2 separate regions of the Homo sapiens genome follow, and region 1 is linked to region 2. Evidence: promoter capture Hi-C in human tissues and cell types (Jung and others, 2019). All regions are on one chromosome and are shown on one strand. The core of a region is centred on a gene start or on the middle of the fragment in contact, and the rest is flanking DNA. Distances in the headings are between cores, read along the strand shown.

Region 1 (6,334 bases), core at 3,480-5,979, 34 kb before region 2:
ATGACTCTTCTCCTGTGAAGCCCAGCACTCCCTAATTTGACCTTTCCTGGCTCTAACACTTTCTACCTTTGTCTTATTCCACATATGTTGCTGTGAAAGAATACCTGAGACTGGGTAATTCATGAAGAAAAGACTTTTACTTGGCTTACTGTTCTGCAGGCTGTTCAAGACGCATGGTGCCAGCATCTACTTCTCGTGAGGACCTCAGGGAGCTTCCACCCATGGCAAAAAGCCAGGGGAACTGGTACGGAGAGATCACATGGCAATAGGGAGGAAGCGAGAGGAAAGAGAGGTGCTAATATGAGAACTAATAGAGTGAGGATTCATTCATTACCACTAGGGTGGCACTGCCCCTGTATCTCAAACTCTCCTCTTAGGCTCCACCTCCATCATTGGGGATCAAATTTCAACATGAGGTTTGGAAGGTCAAGTATCCAAACTATAGCAGCCATCCTTTAAGACTGCTTGTTTTTATCTATCAAGAATCTCATGAGATCTTTGTAAGTAAAAATCCTGCTTCAGAGAATTCATTATCACTCACAGGGAGGTAGTACAGCCAGTGGAAAAGACCATGAAAATTGGAGTTAGACAGATCAGGGTTTGACTTAAGATTCTGGAATCTGTTAGCTGTGTGTGTTTTCTCACTTTTAAAGCGGAGATTAACATGTCTAATTTATGAGGTTGTTGTGAGAAATAAATGAGGTAAAATCATTTGTACATTGGTTTTGGATTCTTGGTGTCTGTATGAAGGTGCTGGGTTGGATACAGTATTTGGTATACAGTAAGTGCTCAATACAAGGTAGCAAGCATTGGTTTTTCCCATAGAGCCTTGTCCTTATTTGTGCTTAAAAAGATGTAACCTAAATGAAAGAATAGGTTAAAAGTATGATACATACATTAAAGTATGTATGATACATACATAAAGTATGATACATACATTAAAAGTATGATCAAGAGTGTAAACAAACATTTCCTTTTCCTCAGGGAACTTGGTCTCTGGCAATGGCCCTGAGGGAGGCTCTGTAGCCACTCCGAGGTCTGTACTCCAGAATAAAACTCTCCAGACGCCTGTTATCCACGGTGTTAGGAAAGACTGCTGTCTCATTCCTGGAAGCTGGGCAGAAGCCTTGGGGCAAAGTCACAATCAGAGATCGTTTTCTTCAGCTCTGCAAGAGAACCAAGATTCTCAAAGAGAATAAGGATTCTCAAGGTGGAGAAGCAGAAGCAGAGGGGCCTGGGCTCCAAGTTGTCACATTCTTTTCAGCAGGGCCACTGGGTTTCCGTGAAAGAGATGGGCAACGGGCAGTAGAGAGCAGCACCATGGCTCCAAGCTGAAGGGGGTGAGTGCCTGTCTGAGCCACTGGGTGCCACAGCCACTGGGTGCCACAGCAGAGTGGTTAAAAGAAAGCTCAGACCACTCTCAGCTGTCAGAGCCCCGGCTTGTCACTGAAGGCTCAGTGTCAACTGTGAGAAGATAAGAGGAGTAATTTCGATGTTCCTGTGAAGCGCACACTAACTCATATCATTGTTCCTACCTTCAATCTGCATTTATTTAATGATGAGTCATGTTGATAATATTTCCTGTGTCCATTGGTATTTTTTTTTCTATAGCACTGTGGATATTTTCCTCTGTAATTGAGTATCATTTAATTACAAGTTTTAAATGGTTAATTTGTGTTAAAAAAAAAAAAAAACAACTAAAAACCAAGTGAACATTGAGATTATACAGTGGAAAATAAAGTCTTTATCCCTGCCACCCCCCCCACCCCACCCCCACAAAAATGCTCAGACCAGGGGAGTCAGACCGCAGAGCTCTCCTGCTGCGGCAACTCTATAGCCCTGGGACTTTGTGCAGGTAACCCAGACAGGGATGAGTGTAACGCCACACAGCGTTTAGAACAGTGCCTATCCCATAGTTAGTGCTCAGTAAATGTTTCTTTTCTTCTCCCTCCCACTACCTTAATTTCCATTAACCTCCCGGTGTGTGTAGCCTTTCTCTCTTTCTGAGTGACTCTTTCTTTTTCTCTCACAGACAGTCCTAGAGGAGAATGCCTGCCAAGAACTCCTCCTCCGTGACAGCGTTTATCCTCTCAGGCTTAACCGACCAGCCGGGACTCCAGATCCCCGCCTTCTTCCTGTTTCTAGGTTTCTACGCGGTCACGGTGGTGGGGAACCTGGGCTTGATAATCCTGATAGGGCTCAACTCTCGCCTGCATATCCCCATGTACTTTTTCCCCTTCAACTTGTCCTTCATAGATTTTAGTTATTCCACTACCCTCGCCCCTAAAATGCTGATGAGCTTTGTCTCAGAGAACATCATTTCCTATGCAGGGTGTATGACTCAGCTTTTTTTCTTCTGTTTCTTTGTCTTTTCTGAATCCTATATTCTATCAGCGATGGCGTATGACCGCTACGTGGGCATCTGTAACCCACTGTTGTACACGGTCACCATGTCTCCCCAGATGTGTTTGCTCCTTTTACTGGGTGTCTATGGGATGGGGATTTTGGGGCTGTGGCTCATATGGGAAACATAATGTTTATGTCCTTTTGTGGAGACAACCTTGTCAATCACTATATGTGTGACATCCTTCCTCTCCTTGAGCTCTCCTGCAACAGCTCTTACATAAATTTGCTGGTGGTTTTTATTATTGTGACCGTTGGCATTGGGGTGCCGATTGTCACCATTTTTCTCTCTTATGGTTTTATTCTTTCCAGCATTCTCCACATTAGTTCCACAGAGGGCAGGTCTAAAGCCTTCAGTACCTGCAGTTCCCACATAATTGTGGTATCGCTTTTCTTTGGGTCAGGTGCTTTCATGTACCTCAAACCACCTTCTATTCTACCCCTGGACCAGGGGAAAGTGTCCTCCATTTTTTGTACTGCTGTGGTGCCCATGTTTAACCCATTAATCTACAGCCTGAGGAATAAAGATGTCAAAGTTGCCCTGAGGAGAACCTTTTGCAGAAAATTAGTCTCTTAAAAATGAATGAGAAAGGGAATCCAAACCTTTGTTAATCAGGGGGTTTCTTTTCTTTTTTTCAGTGAGGGAACAAATGCCACTGCTTTCTCTCCTATACTTAGAGAAAAATTTTAAATGTATTCTTAAGTGCACTTACACCCTGCACTGCTTATCCACACCAACTATTCCAATTGTTATTTTATGAGAATAGTTTCTACTGTTATACAGGGTTTAATCTTGAATAGGCTTATGAAATCATTTACTCCAGTCTCCTCATGCAATACATCACACTCAAAAATATTTTGTAGGCTGCCAAAGGACACACATGTACCTGATGCCAGAGCTGAAACTAGAGTCCAGGCTCTTGAATTTTAATACAATCTGCTGTGTTTTTCTTCAGCTACACTTCCTTGTTCCATCGTTTCCCTGACTGATTTCATTTAAAATTTTTTTTTTTGCATTTAAAGATATCTAATTATATTCATAGTGATGTCATGCAACTTTTCAAAGGTTAATTTTTGGAATAACATTTTTGCAAGAGTGTTGGAAGTGAAAAATGTGGTTGATGTGGTCTTGACAAAAAGATAAGAGAAAATTTTAAAGAATTTTGGGGTGTGTGAGTGAGAAGTAGATTAGGTTCCTTATAGAATCAAGGATGGTGCCCATGGAGATGGTATAGAGCCTTGAGTGAAGGCTTACAATAGAAGGCCTTCTAAGGGAGAGATAAACAGAGTTGAGGGAGTTAAATTTGTTAGATACAAGCTTTATTCTTCATCTGAAGATTAACGGAGACAGAATTTGGAGCCTCACCTCAAAGGTCTGAATAATGTAAATTAGTAATAGACAGCTCTGGATAAGTGAGCCATTAGAACCACGGCAGCCAACTAGTTGTTAGGGGAGGCAATTGCCATTATATAGTTAAGACATTGCATATATCTGTGACCTTCTATTAATAACAATAGGGCATAAAGGGAAGGGACGGTGGTCTTAGGAGAGGTCATATATTCACAGCATTGGGTAAGTGGAAGTACAACTTTGTATAACGAATGAGAGTAATTTTTTTGATCTGAATACATTAGTAATGGTAACAATTATTTCAGAAGTCATGGCATATGAACTGTCTGGAAGATAGTTTAATTTACAAACTTTGAAAAGTTATCTTCTATTAGAAAAAGGGGAAGTTCGGATTAATGTTTAGCTTTCTTCCTTTGGAATCTTTTGGTTTAACGAGGATAGAATTCAGGAAATGAAAGTGTAGGGGAGGGTTGTGTTTTGATGCTAAGGGAGATGAATGATGATGAAATTCAAGACACATGGATTGAGGGTGCACTGGGAATGGTGGAGAATCAGTACAATGAAAACACCCTACTCCTTCTTAAATTGAAATATAAATTTTACAGTGAAGTGCACAAACATTAACTGCTCGATGATTTTTTTTCACATTTATAAGGCTATGATTACTTACCTCCACCCAAATGAAAATATAGCAGATTTTTTATCATTTCAGGGTACTCCTGCCTGCCCTTTCCCAGTAATTACTACTCCCCATGCTCTTCCTGGAAATATTCACTATTCTTACTTTATCATCACAGTTTCATTTTTCTCGTGCTTGAACTTCATATAAATGTTAAATAGTGCATTTACTTTCTTACGTTTCACTTAACATAGAGAGTCATGTGAGATTCATCCATAACAGTTTTCTTGGTTATTGCTGTTTATTTTAGTATTCCATTGTAAGAATGTAGAGCAATTTGCTTATCAATATCTTCTTTATGGACATTTGCCTTGTTTTCAATTTCTACATGTTATTAATAAAGCTGTTATAAACATTCCTTTTTTTTTTTTTTTGAGACATAGTCTCGCACTGTTGCCCAGGCTGGAGTGCAATGGCACGATCTCGGCTCACTGCAACCTCCACTTCCCGGGTTCAAATCATTCTCCTGCCTCAGCCTCCAAAGTAGGTGGGATTACAGGCACCCACCACCACACACAGCCAATTTGTGTATTTTTAGTAGAGACAGGGTTTCACCATGTTGCCCAGGCTGGCCTCCAACTTCTGACCTCGTGATCTGTCTGCTTCGGCCTCCCAAAGTGCTGGGATTACAGGCATAAGCCACCATGCCTGGCCTATAAACATTCTTGAACATGTATTTTGCTGGAAATATACACTTATTTTTGTTTGGGTATATACCTAGATGTAGATTTTATGGGTCACAAGGTAGGCATATGTTTAGGCTTCTAAATGCTATCAAATTGTCTTCCAAAATATTTAAACTGATTTGCACTCCCATCAATAAATTCCAGAAAAGGATACTCTTCATCCTTATTTTCAGTATTTTTCATTTTAATTACTCCGTTGGGTGTGTAGTACAGTATTGCTTTAGTCTTTTAGATATTTCCCTGATAAATAATGATTTTTTTTTTTTTGACGGAGTCTTGCTCTGTCGCCTAGGCTGGAGTGCAGTGGCATGATCTCGGCTCACAGCAACCTTCACCTTCCAGGTTCAAGCAATTCTCCTGCCTTAGCCTCCCGAGTAGCTGGGGTAACAGGAGCCTGCCACCACACCTGGCTAATTTTTGTAGTTTTACTAGAGACGGGGTTTCACTATGTTGGCCAGGCTGGCCTCGAACTCCTGACCTTTTCTTAACAGACAAAGTCTTGCTCTGTTGTCAGGCTGGAGTGCGATGGTGTGATCATGGCTCACTGGAGCTTTGAACTCCTGGGCTCAAGCTATCTTCCTGTCTCAGCCTGCTGAGCAACTGGAACTATAGGTACATGCCACCACACCTGGCCACTTTTTCTATTTTTTGTAGAGATGAGGTCTCACTATGTTACCCAGGCTGTTACCAAATACCTGGGCTCAAGTGATCCTCTCATCTTGGCCTCCCAAAGTGTTGGGATTACAGGTGTGAGCCACCACACCCAGCCTTGTTGGGCACTTTTTATATGTTCATTAGCTATTTGGACATCACCATTTGTGAAGTGCCTGTTCAAGTCATTTGGCTACTTAAAAATAGTGTTGTTGCTGGGCACGGTGGCTCACACCTGTAATCCCAGCACTTTGGGAGGCCAAGATAGGCGGATCAAGAGGTCAGGAGATCGAGACCATCCTGGCTAATATGATGAAACCCCGTCTCTACTAAAAATACAAAAAAATTAGCCTGGTGTGGTGGTGGGCACCTGTAGTCCCAGCTACTTGGGAGGCTGAGGCAGGAGAATGGCATGAACCCAGAAGGCGGAGGTTGCAGTGAGCCGAGATCGCGCCACTGCACTCCAGCCTGGGCGACAGAGTGAGACTCCATCTCAAAAAAAAAAAAAAAAAGTGTTGTTATTCTTTTTTCTTATTGATTAGTTTTTTAAAACGTATAATCTGG
Region 2 (6,316 bases), core at 3,403-5,902:
TTCCTTTTTATCTCTTAACTTGAAGTCTGTTTTATCTAAGTATAGCTACACCTGTCTGCTTTTGTATTTTGTTAGCATGGACTATTCTTTTCAATCCCTTTACTTTCCATCTATGTATGTCTTTATGGGCAAGATGAGTTTCTTATAGGCATCATATAGTTGGGTCTTCTTTTAAAAAAAATATTGTTCAGTCAGTCTTTATCTTTTAAATGGGGGAATTTAATCCATTTACATTCAAGGTTATTGTTGATAGATAAGGACTTATTATGGTCATTTTATTAATTGTTTTCCATTATTTAATATAATGTTTGTTCTTTACTTCCTCTCTTATTTATTTTTGCAGTTGAGTGATTTTCTGTAATGATAAGGTTTGATTCCTTCGTTTGTGTACCAGCTGTATAGTTTTGCCTGTTTTTATGATGGTGGTTATCATCTTTTCACTTACAGATGTAAGATTCCCTAGAGCATTTCTTGTAAGGCTGGTCTAGTGGTGATAGATTCCCTTAGTTTTTGCTTGTCTGTGAAATATTTTATTTCTCCTTCATTTCTGAAGGATAGCTTTGCTGGTATAATATTATTGGGTGCCAGTTTTATTTCTTTCAGTACTTTGTATATATTATCCCATTCTCTGTTGGCTCACAAAGTTTCTGCTGAGAAATTCACTGTTAGGCCTACGGATATTTTCTTATATGTAACTTGATACTTTTATCTTGCTGCTTTTAAAATTCTTTCTTCATCTTTGACTTTTGACAATTTGACTATAATGTACTTGAGAGAGGATCTGTTTGGGTTAAATATATCTGGGGTCCTTTAAGATTTCTGAAACTGGATGTCCATTTATCTGCCAAGACTGGGGAGATTTTCTGATATTATTTTATCAAATATGACTTCCTCATATTTTTACCTTTCTTCTCCTTCTGAAATACCCATAACATGGACATTTGTTTGGTTAATGATGTTACATAAATCCTTTGATTCTTTTTTTTTTGTCTGCCTGTGTTTTTTCAAAATACTTGTCTTCAAGTTCAGAGATTCTTTTTTCTGTTTGGTCTAGTCTGTGACTGAAGGTCTTAATTGTGTTTTTTTTATTTTATTTATGAATTTTTCAGCTCTAGGTTTTCTGTTTGGTTCTTTTATAATATCTGTCTCACTGTTGAATTTCTAATTTAAATCATGAATCATTTTCACAGATTTGTTGAATTGTCTAGATGTATTCTCTTATATCTCGGTGAGTTTCCTTAGGAGAATTATTTTAAATTCTTTTTCTGGAAGTTTATACATTATGATTAGGGTCTGTTACTAACAAATTCTTATCTTCTTTTAGAGGTGACATGTTTTCCTGCTTTTTTATTGCTGATATGTCCCTGTGTTGATTTCTACTTATCTGGTGGAAAAGTCACCTTTTCCAATTTTATGTAGTAGGTTTCTTAGGAAAAGTCTTATTTGTTTAAATGAGTCTTGGGGTGACAGTTCAGTGGAATGTGTTGACCTTGGTTCTAGGTAAACCCAATAGTGTAGTCTCTGTATAGTTTCTTATAAATGAGTCTTGGGGTGTTGGTTCAGTGGAATGTGTTGGCCTTGGTTCTAGGTAAGCCCAATAGTGTGGTTTCTGTGTAGTTTCTTCAGCTGTAATCCACACTAGTGGCATTTGTGAGTTTCTTGGTAGCCTAGACTGAGAGAGTTTATGGCAGTGGTGGTACAGCTTTGCCAGGGGTGGGCTTGCTGGGCTGTTTCTCAGGTTAGGGACATGTGCATGCACTTGGTGGGCCAACTAACTCAGGGTCTACCTTGCTGCAGTTGAGGCCATGGGGCTGTTACTCTTGGCTGCATGGGAATGTGGTTGCTTGGCCAGCTTGGTGACATGTCTGCCAGAGGTAGCCCACAGGGGTGTTTCTCAGGCCCCAGACACAGTCACGTGGCTTCTCAGCTGTGGTGTGTGTGTTTGCTGGGGGTGGCCCACAGGGCTCTTCCTCCAGCTCAAGACATGGGTGTACAGCTGCTCATTCAGCCTGGGAGTGTGTCTACTAGGGGCAGCTCATGAGACTGTTTGTTAGGCCTGTGATGTGGGCACAAGTCTGCTTGGCTGGCCTATGGTTGGTTCCCAGGGCTCTTTCTCAGGTCCAGCACATAGGTACACAGCTGCTTTGCTGGCCTGGGAGTATGTATTTTCCCTGTAATGAGAAGTCCCTCCTGTTTCTGGGCCAGTCTGATCTGGACTGGGGAGACATGGATGCAGAGTCTGCCTTCTTGGATTTTCCATCATCACAGATGCATCTCCACTCCCTTGCTGCATTCTGGTGCTCTCACATTGACACTCCAGTCTAGTCTTGGCTGTTTATTCATTGTCTTGGTCTTTTCTTGTGGGAGAGATGACAGTCAGGTATCTCTAATCAGCCATCTTGCTCTGACTAGATTTTTAAACTAGATATGATTTTTTTTTTTCTAGAGACAGGGTCTCGCTCTGTCACCCTGGTTGGAATGCAGTGGTGTAATCATAGCTCACTGCAGCCTTCAACTCCTGGGCTCAAGAGATCCTCCTGCCTTAGCCTTCCAAGTAGTTGACTCTACAGATGTGTGCCACCACCCTGGCTATTTATTTATTTATTTATTTACTTTTAAGAGACAAAGTCTCTCTATTTTTCCCAGACTGGTCTCAAACTCCTAGCCTCAAATGATCATCCTGCCTTAGCCTCCTTAGTTGTTGAAATTACAGGCATAGCCCCCAGTTCCAAACATATGATCTTGACTTTAGTAGCTTATAACATAATTGTGGCTGGGGTAAGTAACTCCTAAAGCAGGATAAATTAGACTAAGTGGATAAAAAAGATGTGTAGTAATAATACTTCAGTAAGTCTATAACACTTTGTTAATTCGAAGCTACTTATTGAACACTATGATAGTTGATCCTCATACAATCTTGTATGCTAGGTGCTAACATATCTGATTTCAGATGTAGTTACTGAAGTCCAAATAGCGTAAGCTCGCTTGGCTAGTGGGAGACCTAAGGAGATCCCAGGTCATTTTGCTACAAAGCCTGCTCAGGGTACCATATTTGCCTTCTCTGACAAATTTACTAACAGTTTTCTCCTTCCCTTTTATTGATCATGGATAATTATATGGTTCCACCCTTTACCCTTAACTTGTAGTTTCTGCAATCACTTTTATTTACATGACTTCTCAATATGTGTCTTGATATCTTTTTCTCAGCTCTGATCTCATGCTGATGACTCACTACTGACCATTTGCTCTTACATGTACTTTCAGCACATGAAAGTCAGGTCTAAATTCTACCTCTTTATTTATCTCTTTACTTCCTTATTTCTAGGCCCTGGGGTTGAGACTTTAGTAACCTTTGACACTTGGTCTTCCCTCTCGATTCTTCCTTTATAACCATTAATCTAGCAAATTTATTAATCCTCTATCACTACAAATACTTGAGGCCTAAAGAGACAAGGTTGTCCCAACTAACAGATAAACAGGTTTGATTTTTTTAATTCAAGGAAATGTTCTTGTGCAGAGTAGGATAATAAAAGTAACCATTTAATATAACTCGTGAAAACTAATGGCATTAATATGTGTAAAGCATTTAGGATAGTTCCTAGCACATGGTCAGCACTTACAAAGTATAACATATTAGTACTAGTATTAGTATTCTTAATACTAATGATACTAAAATATGATTGGATGATGTTTTTTAAAATGTCAGCTTTGCACTTTGTGCAGATTACTCATTTTCTACAAATGACATAATGTATATAAAACTTTCTGCACAGTGGTTGATACATATGTGTTTATACATGGTAATTATTCCCCAACATAGACCTCCAAGGTCCCATCTAACTCTAGAATTCTATATTAAATACATATATAATTTATGCATAGGTTTGTATATCAATGAGTTGAAAATAATAAAAGTAAAGTCAGATTAAGTATAATGCAGAAACAGATTACTGCTGATATTGCTTTCTCAGGAGTGAATGAAGGCCATTTCAAATGAAGACCTTTCAGTTGCCATCTTTTTTCTCTGATCAGGTTCTGTAATTTCTTATGAAACTTGTACTTGGTCTTCTTGGTATGCTGTGATGGTTGCTGCAGTTGGGTCCAACCTTGTGCCACCAGAAGTCTGAGGGTTAATGTGTGTGTGTGAGAAACATTGTATTGACTCATATTCATGTGTCACATATGAAATCACACAAATTAGAATGTAATTTTGAAAAGTTAGGAAAAAATAGAAATAAATAAAACAAAGAAGCACTATACAGAAATCCAAGTTTTGGAAGGAGGGCAGTTCTGCAACAAAAGGAACAGAGTTAAGAATAGTTCTTCCTACACTGCTTCCTGCTTGGGCTTCATCTGCTCCTCAGGCAACAAGACTTTAGTAAAGCCCCAGTTGAGAGGATTTTGAAGAGTAGTTTCCATGGCAACAGGCTTTAAAATGACATACATCCAGAAGAACTTTTCTTGGTTGTTCTACCATCCAAACAGGAATCCTCTAAGGCTCCCAGAGAAAAGTCAACTTTTAATGAAGCCGGAGTCTTGCTTTCTGTGCCCTAAGGAGCACCTTTCCTGTGGGACTCATTTCATGCTTGTAATAATGACTTATTTTCTTAAATTGTGAGTTGACTACAGTGGGAATGAGAGCAAGGATTGAGGTTTCTCATAATCACTGAGGGAGTGGCAGATTTCTAGGTATAAGAGTTACACTTGAGGCATCTTGTTTCTGAGCAGTGACTAAAATACATTCCACATGTGGCAGAGGAGCAAGCTCTGAGGTATGTTCAAATGTTACCCAGCACTTATACACAAAACACACACACGTGTGTGCGCACACACACCCACTACACACACAGGACTGGAAGAAGGGTGGTAATTAGCTTGCTGCATGGAGGTCAGACAGCTGCCAATGGGGCTCTAATTGTGAAGCCACCACTTCAGCTGCCTTATCCTGACCAAAATGTACCTCTCATTAACTGAGTGCTGTTTGAAATTTCATAACTAGAGATCTATTTTTTTTTTGCTAAAGACTTTGTCTTCATTTTAAGAAATGCCTGGAAGAGGGTGAAGAATGTGGATTGTCCCCAGCAAGTTGTAGTAGACTGTGTGCTGATGAATTTGTGAGATTCTTCTTGAAAACTTAGTTTTGACAGAGAATTGAAGGAAAGTAGCACTAAGATTGTGAATGTTGGGGAAGAGGAATTTTTGCTGAGACTAGGAGACTAGAGATGGGTATAGGAAGAGAAAATGGGAGGCTGTAAAGAAACCCTTACCTGATTTTGGAATTTGGCTTTTGTGGTGTGATAGAATGTGGATATTTGAAAAATAGGCATTGGTGGTAGGACAGGAAGTAGGGACAGGGTAATATACTCAAGGGCCTGATGTTGTCTGTGGATTGGGTTATGTTGGAGAGACAGGCCTTAAAGTTTGAAGAGTGTATTGTTCCCAGGCTCTTCTCACTCTTGTCAGCTGTCTCCTCTGCCCTATGGCAGACCCTCTCTTGTCTCTTTCAGGCTCATTCAGCTTTAAGCAAGATTTTTCCTTCCCTCATGCCATCCCTAGGATATATGCATTTCATATTTGTTTTATGTCTATTTTCTACAGCATTTATCAGGGCTCTTTCTTTTGTCAACCACTCTTCTCGGCTCTTCCACTTTCATGATTTAATTTAACTCTCACAACAACGACACTGTGAATTATCGCCATCATCCCCATTTTATAGATGAGGAGATTGAGAATTAGAGATTAATGAACATTTTGTGAGCTATATGATTCAAAGATATAAAAGTGAATAAAACTACAATGTTGCTAGCATCATTATAGTTCATGGAGGGACAGGACAGTAATACATTGTGAGTAGAGCTGCAAGAGATCTAAGAACAAAGTACTGTAGGATTTGTCGTGGCTAATCCCTATTAAGGTGTGAGCCGATAATTATTTGAGATTACTCCTTCTGGCATTTAGGTGTTTTGATAGGTCATGCTCAAGACATAAAAATTCTCTGAAACATGGTACTGAATAATTTCAGGTCCTTGATGAATTTACTGATGCATATTTAGTTTCTTGTCCTGGAATCAAAGAGACTTGGGTGAGGATGCTTCCTCCCAGGTGGAGTAAGGAACATTTTGTTGAAACCTGATCCGAATACTGTTTTAGGAGTACCTTAGCTGGGATTTCCATAAAAAGCTGTGCTGGGGACAAGGCCATACATGCAGATAGCTTATTTTTAGAAGTCATCCCAGGGAAAAGAGAGAGAGAAAAACAGGGAAGTATAGAAAACCAATAAAAGGTTCTGTTATATGTTACCTTAATGGGGAATTTA

The links. The method cuts DNA at HindIII sites, captures the fragments that hold promoters and counts their contacts. A contact is called where the count stands out against the background at its distance.
Region 1: a contact is called between a fragment that was not itself captured here and the fragment with the promoter of OR8B8 in region 2, in 1 of the 25 tissues and cell types used here (H1 embryonic stem cells).

The regions. Positions count from the first base shown.
Region 1 is chr11:124,477,643-124,483,976 of GRCh38, reverse strand. It overlaps the pseudogene OR8B9P. Among named protein-coding and RNA genes, the nearest start is that of OR8B8, 35 kb to the right of the region's middle. The HindIII fragment of the contact is 5,845 bases long and covers 1,807-6,334 here.
Region 2 is chr11:124,444,032-124,450,347 of GRCh38, reverse strand. OR8B8 (olfactory receptor family 8 subfamily B member 8) reads left to right here and starts at 4,652. Exons shown (of 3, transcript NM_012378.2): 1 at 4,652-4,772. The HindIII fragment of the contact is 11,421 bases long and covers 2,182-6,316 here.